2 separate regions of the Homo sapiens genome follow, and region 2 is linked to region 1. The links are contacts of gene promoters, found by promoter capture Hi-C in blood cells and fetal thymus (Javierre and others, 2016). All regions are on one chromosome and are shown on one strand. The core of a region is centred on a gene start or on the middle of the fragment in contact, and the rest is flanking DNA. Distances in the headings are between cores, read along the strand shown.

Evidence for each region. The method cuts DNA at HindIII sites, captures the fragments that hold promoters and counts their contacts. A CHiCAGO score of 5 or more calls a contact.
Region 2: a contact is called between a fragment that was not itself captured here and the fragment with the promoter of BTC in region 1, in 1 of 17 cell types (endothelial precursors). The highest score is 5.2, in endothelial precursors.

What each region holds. Positions count from the first base shown.
Region 1 is chr4:74,793,193-74,799,164 of GRCh38, reverse strand. It overlaps BTC (betacellulin), which reads left to right and starts at 4,642. Exons shown (of 6, transcript NM_001729.4): 1 at 4,642-4,903. The coding sequence starts at 4,840. The HindIII fragment of the contact is 1,569 bases long and covers 4,036-5,604 here.
Region 2 is chr4:74,328,933-74,334,349 of GRCh38, reverse strand. LOC105377276 (a long non-coding RNA gene) reads left to right here. Exons shown (of 3, transcript NR_188415.1): 2 at 4,046-4,152. Among named protein-coding and RNA genes, the nearest start is that of EPGN, 23 kb to the right of the region's middle. RefSeq lists a cis regulatory region at 3,564-3,863. The HindIII fragment of the contact is 1,402 bases long and covers 882-2,283 here.

The DNA of each region.
Region 1 (5,972 bases), core at 3,393-5,892:
GCCGAGCTGGGTGGATCACCTGAGGTCGAGAGTTCAAGAACAGCATGGCCAACATGGGGAGACCCCGTATCTACTAAAAATACAAAAATTAGCTTGGCGTGGTGATGCATGTCTGCAATCCCAGTTACTTGGGAGACTGAGGCAGGAGAATCACTTGAACCCGGGAGGCAGAGTTTGCAGTGAGCCAAGATTGCGCCATTGCACTCCAGCCTGAGCAACAGAGTGAGACTCCTCTGTCTCAAAAACAACAACAACAACAACAACAACAACAAACATTCATTTTTTGAGTTAATTTTTGAATTTATTTCTTTGCATTCTGGGAAACTAGGTAGCTCATTTATTTAAATCTTCAAATCACAGTACTTTGTTTATATTCAACACGTTTTTGTATCCTGGGTTACGTGCTATCTTGGTCTCTAAAGAGAGTTGAAGGAGGAAGGAGAAATAAAAAGGATGGAGAAGGTGGTCAGAGAGGTGTAAGGGAGGTGTAAGGGCATATGAAGAGGCAAAATTGTACCCAAATCCATGGAATTTTAGCTCAGTGTTACTTTCCCAGCAGAGCCTTGCTCTGTGCCTTTCTTTCTCTACTTCAACTATTAGTAAGAGAGGGTTAGTAAGGATGCCTTTTCCTACTGGTTCTCTCTATGTACCATGTAAAATTTTATAATGACATAACAACTATCAGTGGAACATGGTGGCTCATGCTTGTAATACTAGCATTTTGGGAGGCTGAGGAGGAAAGATTACTTGAGGCCAGGAGTTCGAGACTAGTCACATAGTGAGACACCCATCTCTACCAATACTACTACTACTAGTACTCCTACTCCTACTACTATCAACTATAATTCACTGAACAGTTTCTAATACACCAGATTTTTTCCTTGAAGATATGTATTATTGGGAATCATAAAAACTGTGCAAGTCATTACCATCACATTTTATCAATGAGGAAACTGAGGTTCAGAGAGGTAAGTAGTTTGTGGTTCAGTCATTGGGTGACACAGATCCAAATTGAACAGACTGAACAGATTCCAAAACCAATTGTACATAATATTCCAGCTCTGTTGTCCCACCTAGAGGAGTGTCTACCTTGCTGGAAGTCTGGGACCAAGTAGGAAGAGATGAAGCCACTGTGGCAAGGACTTTAGGAAGAGATGTCTAGGGCCACATAGGTGCTTTCTCACTTAGCCTACAACTAGGGCCAGCACAAAAGCCCAGATTTTTTAAAATCAGAAGTTACTTTTTGAAGTATGTTTCAATATGGCCAAAGAAAAAGATCATCATGGTGAACTGAAACTAACAGGTATAATGTCACAGAGACAATTATTTTTGAGGTTTAATAACATATGTTAAGCTGCCATTTAAAAGAGATAGCAAGTCAGCCGGGCGTGGTTGCTCACGCCTGTAATCCCAGCACTTTGGGAGGCCGAGGTGGATCTCCTGAGGTCAGGAGTTCGAGACCAGTCTAGCCAACATGGTGAAACCCCATCTCTACTAAAAAAAAACCACAAAAAATTAGCTGGGTGTGGTGGCAGGTGCCAGCAATCCCCAGCTACTTGGGAGGCTGAGACAGGAGAATTGCTTGAACCCGGAGGCAGAGGTTGCAGTGAGCAGAGATCACGCCATTGCACTCCAGCCTGGGGGACAAGAGCAAGATTTTGTCTCAAAAAACAAAATAAATAAAAATAAAAGAGATACAAATCAAACACATTGAGAAATACATATAAAAAGTGGATCCCCTAGACTGAAGAGGAAGATACAAGAAAGTAGGCAGGAAAAAAAATAACTACCTCCCTCAGAACAACTAGATTATAAAATACAATTACCTGAATACAACTTTTGAGCAGTGATTTTTCACTGATACATTCTTAGAAACCAATTCAGTAGTTTTAAATAAAATATTTGAAAGTTCTCTCTATGTAACTGTACCACTAATAATCTACAATGCATGATGCTTATCATTACTATAAAAATTACAATTTTAAAAATGCCTTTCATCATTTTCATTCACCCACTCTTATTAAATAAAGTTAATGGTCATTAGGAAATTTTCCTATACTACTGAATGCCTTAAAGCCTTCATTTGGAGAATACATGTTGGCCTAGAAGGAATGCATTCCAAAATTTTCCTTTCCATCATGGCGTGTGTCTGTTTATGTGTTGTGCCCTATATGTAACTACAAGTTTATTTTGTCCTGTCCAGAAGACGGGGAGGACGGTCCCAGCTGCAGGCTGTTCTGTGTGGGAAGAGAAAAAGGCTGATGCTTAAAGGCCCTCCAAAGGAATCTACTTAAGCCTCATACCAGATTTGGGAGGACTGGTTATACCTGCCTAAACCTGGCACAGGAAGAACAGCACTCAAGCAATTCCTACCTTGGGGTTAACTAGGAATACAAGTTTCACCTTGTGACTCTGGTGTAACTTTGGTTTATTTTTCTCTTAGTAACAGCTCAGCTTGCAAATGAAAGCACTGAGACGCAACTCAGTTACATGTTTGAGGACTCAGGAAAATCAATTCTTACCTTCCACTCTTCCAAATGTAATGGTTGTATTCCAGCTTTACCATGCCCCATAAGCAAATGACTTGAGAGAGAGAGGTGGTTGGGGGCTGGGGGAGAAAAAGAAGAAGGAGAAGGAGAGGGAAGAAGAGGAGGAAGAACAGAGAGAAAGAAAGTGAGGGGAAAAAAAAGAAACAAACAAAAAAAGACAGGAAAAGTCTCTTAACATTGAAGAGATTGGATATCCAGTGTCAGAAAATTTGGATTTTCTTGGGAGTACTTATTTTATTTATGGTGGTAAATAAAGCCCTCAAGGAAGGTTATTAATTTATCTGTCCTATTTAGTATATTAAATTATACTACTTCATATTCTAGTGGCCTGAAAAAGTTAATTTACCACTTGAATGGCATAAATGATGAATACTTACACCAAGTCCTGGAATTTTCCAATGCTCAACAAACATTTAGTACTTTTTGTTTAGGTCTCGCTTTTTTTTTTTTTTATTAGTATCTACGAAAAAGGAAAACAAAATTGTAGCATTCTGTTGGGGCTAACAGGACAGCTGTTGGCTAGGCTAAATGCCATCTTGGAGTAAGAGATACTTTAACTTAGGGCACTGGTGCTGAGAGATGGAGAGAATATCAGAAAAGAAAAATGCAGGGTGGAAGTGTTGAGAGGGAGGGAGATGATGTCAAAATCCATTGGCTTCCAGTGTTTCTGCTCTTTTTAGCTGGGGTGCAGTAACCTTCCATCTTACAACTTTGGGTTTCTTTAAACTTCATGCCTGCCCTCTCTACCAATGTTTTATGAGCTGTCATGTGGGACTAGAATGGGATTCTGAAAATTAAGAGCTGATTTTTATTCCACCGGATATATCAGTTGCCTGGGGCAGTAAAATAATTTAGTTTTGAAATGAAATGTTATTCGTGGGAGACAAGTGCACAACAATTTACTTAACTTAAACAGTAGGATGAGGAGGAAGAGGCAGACACCCAAACTACATTTCATATGTAAAATAAGGCTTACATGACTTTTGGATGCTATAGAAATAAAATTTCTGTACTGAGGGGCATAATTATCCACATAAATCTTATATGAGGAACACAGACCAGTACAAAAGCAGCTGTATCTTTTGGTTATCTTGGAGGCAATATATAACCACATAAGGTAAAATTGGATGCTGCTTGCTTTCTCTAAAAGCTGTGAGGATGTCTTTCTGTTCCAGAAATTGCTTAATGCAAGTAAATGAAAATATACTGAATACATGAGTAAATTCATAAACAGAAATACAAATGAAATTTCTAAAGTAGGTCCTGGTGAGCCCCAATTTTATGAATTATTAGAAGACAATGCACCCAGAAACTAAGACACTAGCTTGAAGACTTTTTTCATTTCTTTTCTTTTTTTTTTTTTTTTTTTTTGTTGCTGATGTTGTTGTTGTTGTTGTCGTTGTTTTGAAACAGTGTCTCACTCTTGCGCCTTGGCTGGAGTGAAGTGGCTCGATCTAGGCTCATTGAAGGCTCCATCTCCCAAGCTTAAGCGATCCTCCCCACCTCAGCCTCAGGGAATGGATGGGACTGCAGGTGCACACCACCATACCCGGCTATTAATTTACTTTTGTATTTTTTGTAGAGACGAGGTTTCGCTATGGCTTCAAGACTTTAAAAGGCAACAATGACTCTTTTGAAATTGCCTGCATTATCAAATGCCTGAAGTCAACCACAATGAATGGTGAGTCTGGTTTCTCCATGACACTAGCAATCCTCTGAAATAAAGGAAGTTAGAATTCCAGAACACGTTTGGGTCTCTGACTCTTCCTCGGTGGCTTCCAGGAGTTTAGGTCAGCCTGCAGGCCCGACCGGAACCCCCGACACCCCTCCACGCGGATTCTTTACATCTCCCTCCCTACCTTGTTTACGCCCTAGGGGGTAGGGAAATGAACAGTCAGTCAGGTGAGACCCAGCAGGGGGAGTGGTGAGCTGGTCCGAGGGCAGCCCGAATATGTCCCTGGGTGTGGGTATGGGTGTGGGGCAATTTGGGTGGGAGCAGCGTGGAGGCTCCCAGGACCAAGTCCTGCGCCTCTTTGGCGGGGTGTGTGCAGGAGGAGGGGGGATAAATAGGAGGCTCCCTCCTCCCGGCGACATTCACGGAGCCGGCCGGCCTCCCGCCCTGGGTGTTTCCCTGCCTTGTAGCCAGGGTGCCAGCCTGGGAAGTAGTTTCGTTTCCTTCTGCCTCCGGGATTAGTTTCCAGGCACCCTCTCAGGCGCCCGAGGCCCGGGAAGGGGGCGAAGAAGGAGGGAGACTTGTCTAGGGGCTGCCCGGCCCGGCAGAGCGGGGTTGATGGACCGGGCCGCCCGGTGCAGCGGCGCCAGCTCCCTGCCACTGCTCCTGGCCCTTGCCCTGGGTAAGTGGCCGTGCTGGGCACTGGAAACCAGGAGGAAAGTCTGGGGCTGGAGTCGCGGGGAGGGCGAACCCTGAACCGAGCTGGCATCTGGACAAGAGGGCGCGCTGGGGCTGGCAGGCGCGGGTTGGAGAACTTTGAAGGCTGGGAGAGCGCGAGGTTAAAGATCTGGCAATTGGGCACCTGGGGCTGCACCTGCTGGAGGCAGTCCCTAGACGCGTGAGAAGGCCCGAGGGCGGAAGCGATTCCGAGGTCCTCGCTGCCAGTGCTGCGAGCAGGCCGCCAGCTGCTGACTTGTGCGCACAGCAGAGGGCCTGGCGGCGCCGGCGGGCTGTCCACCGGGGTGAGGCGCTGTGCTCGCAAGTGAGGGTCGGGGGGTGGGGGCAGGGGCGAGCAGGGAAACCCACTAAAGAAGCTCACGTGGTAGTATAGACCAAGAAGCATATCCTGCAGGAGGCAGAAGAACGGGAACTCTTTGACTGAAGGTGTGATCACCTGGCGTTAGGGAAGAGTGCCAGCGGGAGGAGGAGTAGCAGGATGCCTAGAGCCCTCCAGAGGGTCTCTCCTGCCTCCTTAGGAGTCAGAACTCACAAAGCAGAGCTGGAACTTCAGATGTGGCTGGAAGCAGGCTTCCCCTTCCCCTCCACCGAGGGAAGGTAGTGAGAAGGCTTCTAAGTAGGAAAAAATCCCAACTCTTCAAAGCTTGCTCTCTGCATCATGGTCATTTTGCGGGGCAGAGAAGGGAAGGGAAACCAGTAACATTTTCTAATCTTAGCTGGGCTGTAGACACATCTGGGTTTGGAGCATTTATGTGGTAGGAGGAGAGTCTCCACAGCTGAAGTGTCACCACGATATCACTCCTACCTTCAAGCCTGGGAAGGGGACACCACAAATGAAAAAGAATGGGAATTCCTCTTATTGAGGAAAGAGAGGGGGAGCCTAAATGAAAACTTTCATTTGACTGTGTCCTTGGAGTAAGAGAGGTGGCTAAAAAGGTACAGTGAACTTGCTTGGAGGTGGATCAGACTTAGGACCAAGGTTAGAGAAAATAAACTTATTTAACAAACGCTGA
Region 2 (5,417 bases), core at 333-2,832, 460 kb after region 1:
TTGCTTGCCACTCCTAGTTTTTGGGCACCACTACATCCCCCTCATCCAGACACCAGTGCCCAAGGTGGAAGCCAGTTGCGACATGCCTGGACCAATAGCAAGCTGAGTGCAGAGCTGCAGCGGGAGCAGGTTCTGGGCTGGTAGCGCGAGCTGAGTGTAGCCCACTGGGTTGAGTGGGCAGAGCAAACCCTGTGGTCATGAGCGAAGCTGGGGCAGAGACGCCACTGGCTATGAGATTTCCGGCTGGCTAAGTACCCCCAAAAAACTCCTGTAACACAGTAACCGCTCCCTCCTGCTGGTGGAGCCACAGGGAAGAAAAGAAGCTGCTTGGGTGCCATTCCCTCTGCATGCTGAACAACAGAATCCTGTGTCACTAGTTTATGCTTAGAAAATATGTGAAGTGATACAAAATAATTTTTATCTCTGAAAAGTATAACTAGTGGTTAGGAAACAATAATGGAAGGAAGTACTACCATTATCTGAATACCCTTTTTATTATCCTTTATATCATGTTCATATACGATCTATTACAAGGGAACTGTTTTTTCCTTTTTGAGACAGTCTCACTCTGTCACCCAGGTTGGAGTGCAGTGACAAGATCTCAGCCCACTGCAACCTCCAACTTCCGGATTCAAGTGATTGTTGTGCCTCAGCCTCTCAAGTAGCCAGGATTGCAGATATGCACCACCACACCTGGCTAATTTTCATATTTTTAGTAGAGATGAGCTCTTGCCATGTTGACCAGGCTCGTCTCAAACTCCTAGGTTCAAGTGATCTACCTGCCTCAGCCTCCCAAAGTGCTGGGATTATGGATGTAAGCCACTGTGCCCGGCTCTGTTTTCTCAGAAGCTTAACAGGCATACAATTTTGAAAATTAAGCTTGATAATAATATTCTAACTTTACCTGAACTCCAAGCATTTTATATAGCTGTACTTATTAAATATATGTATTGGACTGGTTCTAAAAGAGGAAGAGTGAGCAATAAAATAGGACTTGATCTTGTAAATATGAATACAAAGTAAATATATATAGTATACATTTTTTGCCTTACTATATATAATAAATAGATACGTGACAAATGAGTCATGATAAATTTAAAAAGAACTAAAATTTTCATCTTGCTATACACAGAATCTTTAAAAAATAAAATAAGTCAACTTTTTTGTGTGTGAATGGAAAAACTTCTAAAGCAAAAATAACTTGTGGTAAAGATCTTTCTATGTGAAAATATCACTTTTAAAATTATGTATTTCAAAGAGAAATATAGACTAAATAAAAATGGGGAAATGACTTGGAATAAGCATTTGCAACACAAATGTTAAAGGGTTAATATTTGAAGTGTTTTAAATTTTTTATATCTAAATTAAAAAATCATTCAACCTAATAGATAAATAAGCTGTGAAGATGAACCGACATTTTACTAAACTAGAATGACAAATGTCCAAAAAACAAAGGAAAATATTCAATCTTACTTGAAACAGAAGATGCAGCTAATTTTACTCCATTCTGAGATGAGTTTTACCTGTCTTTGTTCATTATGTAACCTTGCAGCACAGATATAAGAAATCATTCTCATAAAGGTTTCAATTTTATGATCAATATTTTTCATGACAGTTTTAAGAGACAGGCAGCTATACTTGGGTATTTCTAGGTGAGCGTCCTCCATTTTTCAACATTCTCCTTAAAATCATTACAGTACTTGGTTATGTTAATATGTTTCTATTTAATCCAAGTGTAATCTGCATTTTATAGGCCTTGACAACTTTTGGGTCACAATAACAGAAATATCTCCCGTCTTTTGCTCTTTGCTGGGTAGTCACCTGAAGTTTTTCTTCCCCTTTTTCCTCCCAGCTTTCTCTCTCCCTCCCTTTCTTTCTTTACTCCTGCCTTTTTTTTTTTTTTGGATAAATTTTAAAAACGTAGAACAGTCCAAAGATTTATCTACTCAAAATTTATATACCCACCTTGTAAATTGTAAATTTTTAATATTTGCTTCCAGTTCTTTTTAACATATGAAATTAGATAATATAGATAAAATACCTAAACTTATATAGTATTTTTTTCTTACTATGCTCTGTTCAATGTGCTTTCCATATATTGAAGTCATAACTCCATATGTAACTAGTATATTAAATCACCTATTAGCTAATCCTTATAACAATTTTATGAGTTAGTTCTACTATTATCCCCATTTTATGAATGAAGAAACTGAGGTGAAGAGAGCTTACATAGCTTTCCCAAGGTTCATGTATTGTAAATGGTGGCACCAAGAAACCCAAGCTTTGTAGCACTGGAGTCCCTGCTTTTAGTTTCTCTCCTATTTTAAAAGTGATACATAGTACTTCTCCTTAAGACATAAATATTTAATGATATTAATAGTTAACTATATCTTTTACAGTCATTCTTAGTTTTTATAATTTTGTAACATGGTCTCTTTTTAGTCAATATCTTTGTTCTTTATTTGAACAAGACAAGAATTTAGCACACCGGAACTCCTTTCTAAATTTTCCCTCCAATCTTCCTTTATTATTGTTGTCTGGTGTTTAAGTTTCACATTGTTAATTTGTAAATGTTGTCACAAATTAATTTTAATTTCTACTCAATTGACAAACACATATCTCTGACTTCCTTGCTCATCACTGATACTTGCATGGTATTTTTTTCTCCTGGGTTCTTGTTTCATCTTGCTGAAATACATTCACTGGCAGTCTTCAGTATCGTTTAGAGGTGATATGGTTTGTCTCTGTCTCCCTACCCAAATCTCATGTTGAATTGCAGTTCTCAATGTTGGGGGAAGGACCTGGTGGCAGGTAATTGGATCATGGGGGTGCATGTCCCCCTTGCTGTTCTCATGATAGTGAGTGAATTCTCGTGGGATCTGGTGGTTTAAAAGTGTGTGGCACTCCCACTTCTCTGTCTCTCTCATGCCACCATGTAAAGACATGCTTGCTTCCCCTTCACCCTTCCACCATGATTGTAACTTTCCTGAGGCCTCCCCAGGCATGCCTCTTGTACAGCCTGTGGAACTGTGAGTTGATTAAATCTCTTTTTATAAGTTACCCAGTTTCAGGTAATTCTTTACACCAGTGTGAGAATGAACCAATACAAGAGATATTAAACTCTTAGTCTTTTGTAGATACAGAATATTATAAGCTCTACGTTCTTCAACTTAGACTTTGCTGGGAAGGACAATAGGAGTTTACAAGCCCTAAGGATGAGTTTAATGGGGAAACTTGAAAAAAATTAGAAGACAACTACCATTAGTCTTTGGAAAGGTAAACCTCTGATTATAACATAGATTATATAGAAAAAAGAAAGTAAGCAAACATTAACCGGTGAATTACTACAAAATTACATTAAATTTATTGTTTGTTTTCTTAGGATCTCACTGTGTCACTGCAGTGGGATAATTTAGGAATCAGAGAGACTGAGGGGCCGGAGAGGATATATATTATTTATTATTTAGGTGCACTGGCCTAGTCAGATTAGCATCCAAAAAGACTGAGCCCCGAACAAAGAGTGAGGTTACCTTTTAAGCATTTCATGGGGCAGCGGGAGATCTTTGCAGGGGGAAGCATATTACAGAAGTGAGAAACAAAGACCGTTATTCAATTGAGACACTCATTACATTATTTCTAACTTTTCAAGGAAAAACATGTTTTACGACTTGAGTTTATCTGCCTAGTAACCTTGCAACTGCACAGTTAGAGAAACAGGATCTTCGCAATGCCTGGGAAAGAGAGAGATAAGACTCACAAGCCACAGACAGAAAAACAGGCGTTAATTTTTAAAGGACTCCACCTCTTTTTCTTTCTCAGGGGGAATTGGGTTTTTTTACATACAACTGAGTTTTCGCTTACACGTTCTTTAATTTCTTTTAATTCCTGTTTCATCACCAGGCTGGAATGTAGTGGTGCAATAACAGCTCACTGTAGCCTCGACCTCCTGGGCTCAAGCCATCCCCAACCTCACCCTCCCGAGTAGCTGGGACCACAGGCGTGTGCCACCACACTCAGCTAATTTATTTAAAACAATTTTTTTTAGAGATGAGGTCTCCCTTTGTTGCCCAGCTGGTCTGAAATTCCTGGTTTCAAGTGACCCTCACACGTCAGCCTCCTAAAGAGGTGAAGTTATAAGCATGAACCATTGTGGTAAGTCTTTGTTTGTTTTTTATATTATCATCATAAAGTTGAGTTTCTCTTTCCATATGTTTGCTAAGAAGAATAAAATAATTTATAAATTTGGTTGATTTATAATCCTGAGTCACAAAATGTTTGTTTAAAAAACTATATCTGTTAAAATATTTGTCCTAGAAAACTTTGCATTTAAACTTTGTCTGTCCTTGAAAAAAATGTGAAATTAACTTGTTGTATAGACCATGGTTGAATTTTTGTAGCTTCAATTATACATAAGTGGTTTGAGTTTACTTGTTAGAAATACCAAGATCCTTTGTGGCTGTGGCTGAATGTCTATTTTTTTGTTTTTACTATCAAAGGTGGTAGAATTCTATGTTAACAGAGATTTCCCCTGAGTATTTTGAACACTTTATTCCATTGTGTTATGGCATCTACTTTCACTGATGAGAAATCTACTGCCATTATAATTAACTAGTTTTCTTTTTTAGTAATATTTCTTTTTGTGTGTATGGCTTTGAAGTTTTTAAACTATGTTTTTTAAACTAAGTTTTAAGACTATGAATACAACTTCAATTTAAAGATTTATATCCTGCTTTCATTCTGAAAGTTCTCAGCCATTATCTCTTAGATATTTCCTCTAACCTAGCCTTTCCTTCTGGAACTCATGTTGGGCTTTTTTTTTTTTTCTGAAATTTTCATGCTTTACATCTCTTTACTTTGTGATGCATTCTAGCTGATTTCTTCAGATCATCTTCCATATTTCTAATCTTCTCTTCAGCTGTGCCTACTGTAGTACTTATTCTACTTACAAGATATGTTTTTAAATACTGAAGACTGTATTTTTAACTGTAGGATTTTTACTTGTCTATTTTATCCATATAATGCTCTTATCTTCTGGGGTGTTTCCTTTCTTGTCTCTGAACATTTTAAGCTCCACTTTTCAAAAGGCCAGTTAGATCATAATTTCTCTAATTACTTTGGTATGAATTCCACACTAGTTGGGTCTATGGACACCCTCTCCTCTGAAATTATCTGTGTGTTTTATAATTTTTATTCATGAGGTCATCTTAAGTTGGAATTTGTTCTCTGGAAGGTCATCACATACCATTTGCTATAGAACTTCTCCATAAGACTGTCTATGTATAACTCTGCTTAGGTGCAGTGAGGGCCACTAGTTCTGAATCTTTCTTTTATTTTACACTGCCATACACACTACTTTTACACTGTATTTTACACTGCCATACACACTTCTTTTATTTTACTATGCCATATGAGTAATG